Regions from separate parts of the Homo sapiens genome. Here region 1 is linked to region 2. The links are contacts of gene promoters, found by promoter capture Hi-C in blood cells and fetal thymus (Javierre and others, 2016). All regions are on one chromosome and are shown on one strand. The core of a region is centred on a gene start or on the middle of the fragment in contact, and the rest is flanking DNA. Distances in the headings are between cores, read along the strand shown. Region 1 has its middle 4.9 kb from the start of RAP2A. Region 2 holds the start of SLAIN1 (SLAIN motif family member 1).

Region 1 (3,748 bases), core at 1,059-3,558, about 20 Mb after region 2:
GATTTCCATGGCCTTCTTATACTCGCTCTGGGCACATACTCATGCCATGACTTATCCCCCAATTTAAACTACGTTCTTCTATTTTACTTTCTTCATTTTCTTTTTCATCCAGGTAAGCATAGTTGCATGCCCCGAAGTTGACAGACTGATGGTACAATTTAACTGTATATCTCCTACTTACATTTTAATTGGAAAAAAATAACTTTTACATCAAAAGACTAAAACCTAAGTGCAGAATTTCAGACAACAGTCAGTTGATAGAAGACATGATTTTTCAGATCTTTCCTGGCACTCCTAAATTCCAGGTCTACAAACTGCCATTGACTTTGCCTGTTGGAGACTTACTGTTTTTGAGATACAAGCTTCTTTGGAGATTAGACCAACTTTGGAGGACATTTACATCAACCTCACCTTGATTTGGGGAAAATCCTTATTCCTTTCCTTTTATTCTCATCTTCTCTGTGTTCAAAACCCAGGGTTTTTAGAAGCAACATTATAGTCCACTCAATTGCTCATTTATTTACAAACATTTTATGAATTCCCACAATTGTTTTTAGGCGATGTGCTGAATGCTGGTAAAGCAAAAATGAACAAAGCACTGTCCCTTTCCCCAGTCACTGGAGAAGACAGTGCAATCATGTGTTATTGGTGTTAAGACAGAAGTCTGTTCAGGGTTACACTTGGGGTCACAAAAAGTGAGTGGTAAATCCTACCTCCAGTAATATCAAGATGTGTTCATATACCTACCATAGCTTAATTTAAAAAATTCTTATATTTGTACAGAAAATAGCATTAGAAAAATTAGTACAACCATATTTGACCAGAAACCACATAATGCCTAACAAGTTCTGATTTTTATTACAAATATTTATTATTGTTGCTCTACTATTACATTTGGCACATCTATGGGTTTTTTTTTATTTCAAAAATGCTTTGCTAATCTGTAACTTATTATGACTTACAGCTTTTTTTGTTGAAAAGATTTTCCTACAGGAAGGTACAAAAAGGCATTCTAGTGAAAACATTTTAAATTACACTATTTACCAAAAAGCCTACCTTTATGTATTACTGCTCTATTGAAATTTTTCTTTTCAAACAAATTCCATTCATTTCTACATAATGCATGTCAATAACAGCTATCATGGAAAAATAACAAGCAAAAACTGTTTTTCTACCTGTCTTCATTTTTTGCCACTCCTCATGTTTCCTTCTATTTCTATTTGTGAAAGTTTGAATCCCTCCTTCTTGATGCCCTTAAATCCATAATTACTTCTTATGACAACTCTTTTGACGCCCACATTATAAATTATTCATTATTTTGAATGACGCCTTAATTTCAAATGCACTCTTGTACTCCTACTTTGTCTTCTGTATTTTTCTCCTATATTATTTTTATACCTTTAAATAATCTTGCTTTGAGACTTCTGGCATCTTTCTGTCTTTTTCTCTGAGAGATGCCCCTAGAATGCTGTTGCTACAGGGAATTTAAAAAATCAAGTGATTCTGGTATTTCCCTCATTCACTCTTACTTCATTCCTGCTTTCTTCCTTTGCTCTTCTGGTTCCTTACATCTAGAGTGCTCTCTTCTGCCCCATCTAGCCTGTCCTTTCGCCACTTCCTTCAAAACCTGATACAATATTAATTTGCTTCAGACAACTCTCCTGGACTAACCTACTCCAATTTACTGTTTCTCTCGACCTCTGGGAATGTCAGTAAAAACTATACATTTCATTCTCATTTACTTGGAAAGTGTTTGTTTTTGTAATTTCATTCAGTTATTTAGTTATATATTTTGTAATATTTTATTATTTATATAATTACTATATACCCTTTCTAATTCCTGATTTTTCCTTATTAGTTTTAAGCATAACCATTATTTTATAATATAAACATGTAATTGGTTGCTTAATATCTGTCTCTCCTGCTAGAATACAAGCTCTTTTGGCTAATTGCTTATTGTTTTATCCCCAGAGCCTAAAAAATATACACAGTAATTACTCAATTAATATTATAGTATCTTTGAACTATCGTTCAGATATTAGTGAAATGAAAGTGCTCACAAATGCTTGCTGATTTTTTAAAGCCCGATTTTGGCTGGAATCCCTCATACTTTTTGTTAACAGGTGGGATGTATTTTGCTGTAAGATGCAGAAAACCTTACCAACACACACTTAAATTGAAAGACACCAGCTGTTTACTTAGCCATAAGTCCAAATGTGGGCAGTTCTAATGTTGGTTTGACTGTCCAATGTTGTCATGCAGGACCTAGGTTCTTCCCATCCTCCTCCCTGGCCATCCGAAGTTGCTGGCTTTCTACAGTATTGCACCATAATGTCATAATGCATCATAGCCCCCAAATGGAGGCCACATTCTCATATTTCAATGTGTAAAGCAGGAAGCAAAGAGAGCGACATCAGAAAACGGGGATATTTCCTCACTCTTGTCAATATCCTAGAAATCCCTCCAGCCCTAGCAGCCTTCTCCCCATTCCAATGACAAGAACTGAGTCACGTGCCTACTTTTGGACTAACCGTGGGCAGAGGGAAAGCAATGCTATTAAAGTCCAATCCTGATTCATCCCAGCTTCTTTGGCAAAAATAAAGGGAAACTGCTGGGTACGCAAGCAACACTGTGCCTGCTCTTCTGCTTTGTTAAATGAACCACACTGAAGCTCTGTTTTCCGCAGAATCCTCTAGCTCTTAAGATTCTTCAGGCTTTTTCTTTTTTCTGCCTACATTTTAATCATTACGTCTTTTCTTTCAGATTTTTTTTCTGATTAAAATGGCCTTTTGAAACATCTACTCTCTCCACCCATACGTTTCTTTTATTGAGTTGTTTCCATACTCTTAATTTCTGCATTCTAATTCCTTTTCTTTTCAAAAGCACTGAGACATATCACATTTTTTAAAGGAAGAACAAAGTTTATTTTGCCCCTTCCTTTCCACTCCACATATATACTGCAGATTCTCAACTGTATTAGGAGCCTCACAGGTCAAGAAACCATCGTCTGCTCTCCTTATACTTGCCAGCAGCGTTTCACAGGTGCTAAATGTACTTGACATGCCCTTCCCCTTTATGTTTAATCAGAGGCATGCAGGCTTTAATAAGAAGCATTAGGAATCAGGGTTTTACAGTCGAAAAGTACCCCTCGCATTACAAACATCCTCTACTAATTTGTTTCTATTAAATTATCTGCATATTTGCTTCTTGCTGGTGTCAGGAAGTCCCAGAATACAGTACCTTTCCCACTTCATACCACCTTTTCCAACACCTTTTACAGAAAGAAAGGATGGACTTGGGTTTCCACGGTAACACAAGTGCGATAATTGAAGGTATCTGGCTATAGGTGAGATAACTCCCTTTCAGATTTAGTGGAGAGAGGAGAAATGAAGATTTTCTTTCTTTTTATTCTCCTGGCAATGCACTTTGGAAACTAAAGGGATCCTGCAGTGTCAGTTACTGCGTTAAGTTTTCACTATCTTACAGATTTACAGCTCTTGGGAATAATTCAAATTTCTTTTATATCATTTTTATTTTTTATTTCCCACAAACAAATGAAGATATAAGTTATTTCTATAATCATCTCAAAATAGAGTTTATGCTGGCATCGGAATGAACATGACTAAGGGGTTAGAAAATAGACATCCATCTCCCACCCAAGTCCTCTAAATTCTCTACACGTCCTGACATCCTTTTTATAGCAGCTAATCTTTCACCCAACATTTCACCTACAACCACAAATCAGGTA
Region 2 (3,484 bases), core at 670-3,169:
TTTTTAAAGAACAAAGATTTTTATGATAATTATTACTTAGAAAACAGGGTTCAAAAGCTTGGCTACTGCTTGTTGGATGTATATAGACCATATTGGGTAAATGAAGGAGGAAAGGGCTGTCTGTTTCTCTCCTTCTTTAGAGTGTATATAAATTGTGCAGTAAAATGACGGCTTTTCTTTACATCTTAATTCTTGTTGTCTTCACTATTATGTGCCTATTCCCAATTTCTTTCTCTAGTCTGGGACCCAGCAGCTCTTTGTTCTCATTGTGTCTGTCGTCTCCCTTTCTTTGTGTTGCAGGGAGATACTGCTACCCGCATCTGCCACTGAGCATGCGGGAAAAATCCTTCAATAGATTCTTTACTTAGGACTTTCAGTAGTATTACTCCATTTCTCCAGGTTTTGGTAATAACCAAAAAAAATCCTAAAGATATACCGAAACTTGGAAAGGTGATGGGTGATACAGGTGGTTAGGTGGTGGGCTAGCAAGCTGGGACACAGGGAAGGTTAAGGGAGTCATCACACGCATTTAGCTAATTTATGGAAGCGCTCACCAAGCATGTTAAATGCAGAACATCCACCCTGCACACAGAAGCTAGAGATGTAGATTAACAACTGAGAAGATACAAGTGTTTCTGAGCAGGAAGACACAAAACCATATCTGAAACCAATAGATACGATGTGTTAGCAGCTCCAGAGAAATGAGGTACATTGTCACAAAGATTGGTATGTAAAGTCCCTAGCAAGGACTTTCACTAGATAGTATATCATCTGAGGATGAGAACCAGTGGTGTAGATTTTTCTCATAATATAATCTCAGGTTTTCCTCTGATTGTGTTAAACACTCAAAATGCTAAGTCAGTCAGTATTCATTGAACACAACTCGATTAAATTCTTCTGCTTAAAAGCCTCTTTTAAAAAAAGCAGATTTGCTCGTTTTCCAAGTGGTAAGAAATAGCAGGTTTGCAGGTGAGATTAAAGTGTATTGGGTAGAATTCTGAGGTTTTCTGTTTTCTGCTTTCCCACCAGCAAGTCTGACTTTAATAACTTACACATTATTTAATAGAAGGAGCACTAAACAATTTTACTCATATTTCTCCCCATAACCATTTTTGCCTATTGTACTCATTGCCCGCATCACGAGCTCTTAGAATGGTTCCTGGCACAGAGTAGGTGCTCAAAGATCTTTTGTTTGGGGAATGCATGAATATACATAGTATGAAAAAAAAAGCAGTTCTTCTTTTATTGTGACAAACAATGATGGTAACAGTTCAAATTTGACTATTTTAGAATAAATAAGTAAACACTTGTCTCCTTAGCAGCTGGCCACTCTACCTCTTAGAGAGAGGGCTTTCTTCTCTTTCTTCTCGGTCTCCTGTCTCCCACCATTTTGCTTCTCTATTACCAATGAGAACATGAGTGGCATGGTCCCAAAGCCTTTCTGTTCCCCCTATCTCCACTTTTCGGTTTTTAGAATAACGATCCCCAGCCTTTAAGTTTTCTATAGGATTCGTTAGCCAGTGGCTATTAAGTGCTGTCACGGAGCCTAACAGAGAGCTGGGAAGGGAGCAAACCAGCGGGCCGGTGGTGCACTACTCGAGGGCCAGCACCTGCAGCTGCTTCTTTGGGAACCCCCTGGTCCCCGCAACCGCCTCAGAGACCCGCGCAGTTCACTGTCCCACCAAGCGGCAGGAGGAGGTGCTTGTGGCGGGAAAGTTCAGGCCAGGTCCAATCAGGCCCCTGGGATTAGGTAGCGAGGGTGGGTGCGGCTCCCCGGCCCCAACCCGGGCTGCCGGCCCCGCCCCCTGGGTGGGCTTCCCCACGGTTCTCCGCCCCCCCCCCCCCACCCGCCCCCTCGGCGCTCTTGCCCCGCCCCGCTCCGGGGCCGCGGCTAAAACCCGGAGCCGCCGCGACGCCCAGGGGACTGGAGGGACGCACTGAGCATGTGCAGATCAGCTCGGTGGTGGCTGCCGCGGCCGGAGGCGAGGGCCCGGTGCTGATGCGAACCGCCGGCTCGGCCTCAGCCCGCGCGTGGTCGGCCCCCCAGGCCGGGGCGACAGGGAAGGAGCCGTAGCCTCCCCGTGGCCCGAGGAGCCGGCGCGGCGGCGCGCACTCCCCGGCGGCCGCGGCGCCCTCGGGGCCCACGATGATGGCGGAGCAGGTGAAATGCGCCTCGGCAGGGGTCAGCTCTGGAGCGGGCTCCGGGCCGGTGGTGAACGCGGAGCTGGAGGTGAAGAAGCTGCAGGAGCTGGTGCGCAAGCTGGAGAAGCAGAACGAGCAGCTGCGGAGTCGAGCGGCCAGCGCGGCCGCCGCCCCGCACCTGCTGCTGCTGCCGCCGCCGCCGCCCGCCGCGCCGCCCCCCGCTGGCCTGCAGCCTTTGGGTCCTCGGAGCCCCCCGGCCGCCACGGCCACCGCCGCGGCCTCAGGGGGCCTGGGGCTCGGGCTGGCGCTGGGCGCGGGGGGCGGTGGCGGCAGCGGTAGTGGCAGCGGCGGTGGCTCCAGCCCCGCGTTCCCGGGCACCTTCTGCCTGCCTAGCCCCGCGCCCTCCCTGCTTTGCAGCCTGGCGCAGCCACCCGAGGCGCCCTTCGTCTACTTCAAGCCGGCAGCAGGCTTCTTCGGCGCGGGCGGTGGCGGGCCGGAGCCGGGGGGCGCGGGGACGCCGCCAGGGGCAGCTGCAGCGCCGCCCTCGCCGCCCCCCACGCTGCTGGACGAGGTGGAATTGCTGGATCTGGAGAGCGTAGCCGCCTGGCGGGACGAGGACGACTACACCTGGTACTGCCTGGCTCCGCTCCTTCCCCGAGACCCTGGCCTCGGGGGCTTCGGGCACCGGGGAGCGGGGGCGGGGGGCGGACGGGGGTCCCCTCGCGGCAGCCGGGGTGACTCCCCGCGGCTCCCGGAGGGGCCGACCCAGCAGGTGTTGAGCCAGGCGGTGACACTTCCCACGATGAGGCTTCTCATGAAGGCAGAAACCTGTTTTCTAATCGCTCCGACTGCGGATGAACCGGCCCCCCCTTCCCCCCATCTGCCATGGGTTCTGCTATTTGCTGATTGTTGGGTCCCAAGCTCCTCGTTAGCATTAAGTGCAAAATCCATGTCATCTTGTCTTTTTGCTCAGTGCTGCTCTTTTCCCCAGTGTTTTCGGAGGGATGACGGGGGATGGTAGGGGTTGGCCTCTGTCTGCGACTGTTACTGTTCTTTCGTTTTAAACGAACGCTGGACAGGATTTGCGTGCTCTTCCTCCTCGGGTGGCATCGGAAGCCGCGCAGTGATGGATCTCTCTTTATAGAGAGGTTCGTTCTTGCTGTTTGAATTTTGCAGTCGTGTGCCCTTTTGCGTTGCATTTTCATTGAAATCTTATTTTCAGAGACTGACTTGCTTTTTAAAATGGGGTGACCTCACTGGCTTTCCCATAAATAGTGCCAATAAAGAGGACTTTTCTTGGAGTGGAATGAACAGGTGGGAGGGACTTTTTTATTTATTTATT

Evidence for each region. The method cuts DNA at HindIII sites, captures the fragments that hold promoters and counts their contacts. A CHiCAGO score of 5 or more calls a contact.
Region 1: a fragment that was not itself captured here is called in contact with the fragment with the promoter of SLAIN1 in region 2 in 5 of 17 cell types (total CD8 T cells, naive CD4 T cells, total CD4 T cells and 2 more); the score reaches 10.0 in total CD8 T cells.

Annotation. Positions count from the first base shown.
Region 1 is chr13:97,427,418-97,431,165 of GRCh38, forward strand. No RefSeq gene overlaps it. Among named protein-coding and RNA genes, the nearest start is that of RAP2A, 4.9 kb to the right of the region's middle. The HindIII fragment of the contact is 3,897 bases long and covers 361-3,748 here.
Region 2 is chr13:77,695,768-77,699,251 of GRCh38, forward strand. It overlaps SLAIN1 (SLAIN motif family member 1), which reads left to right and starts at 1,920. Exons shown (of 7, transcript NM_001242868.2): 1 at 1,920-2,772. The coding sequence starts at 2,147. It overlaps MIR3665 (microRNA 3665), which reads right to left and starts at 2,349; the gene lies at 2,245-2,349. RefSeq lists silencers at 1,678-2,237, 2,438-2,677, 2,838-2,987. The HindIII fragment of the contact is 5,751 bases long and covers 56-3,484 here.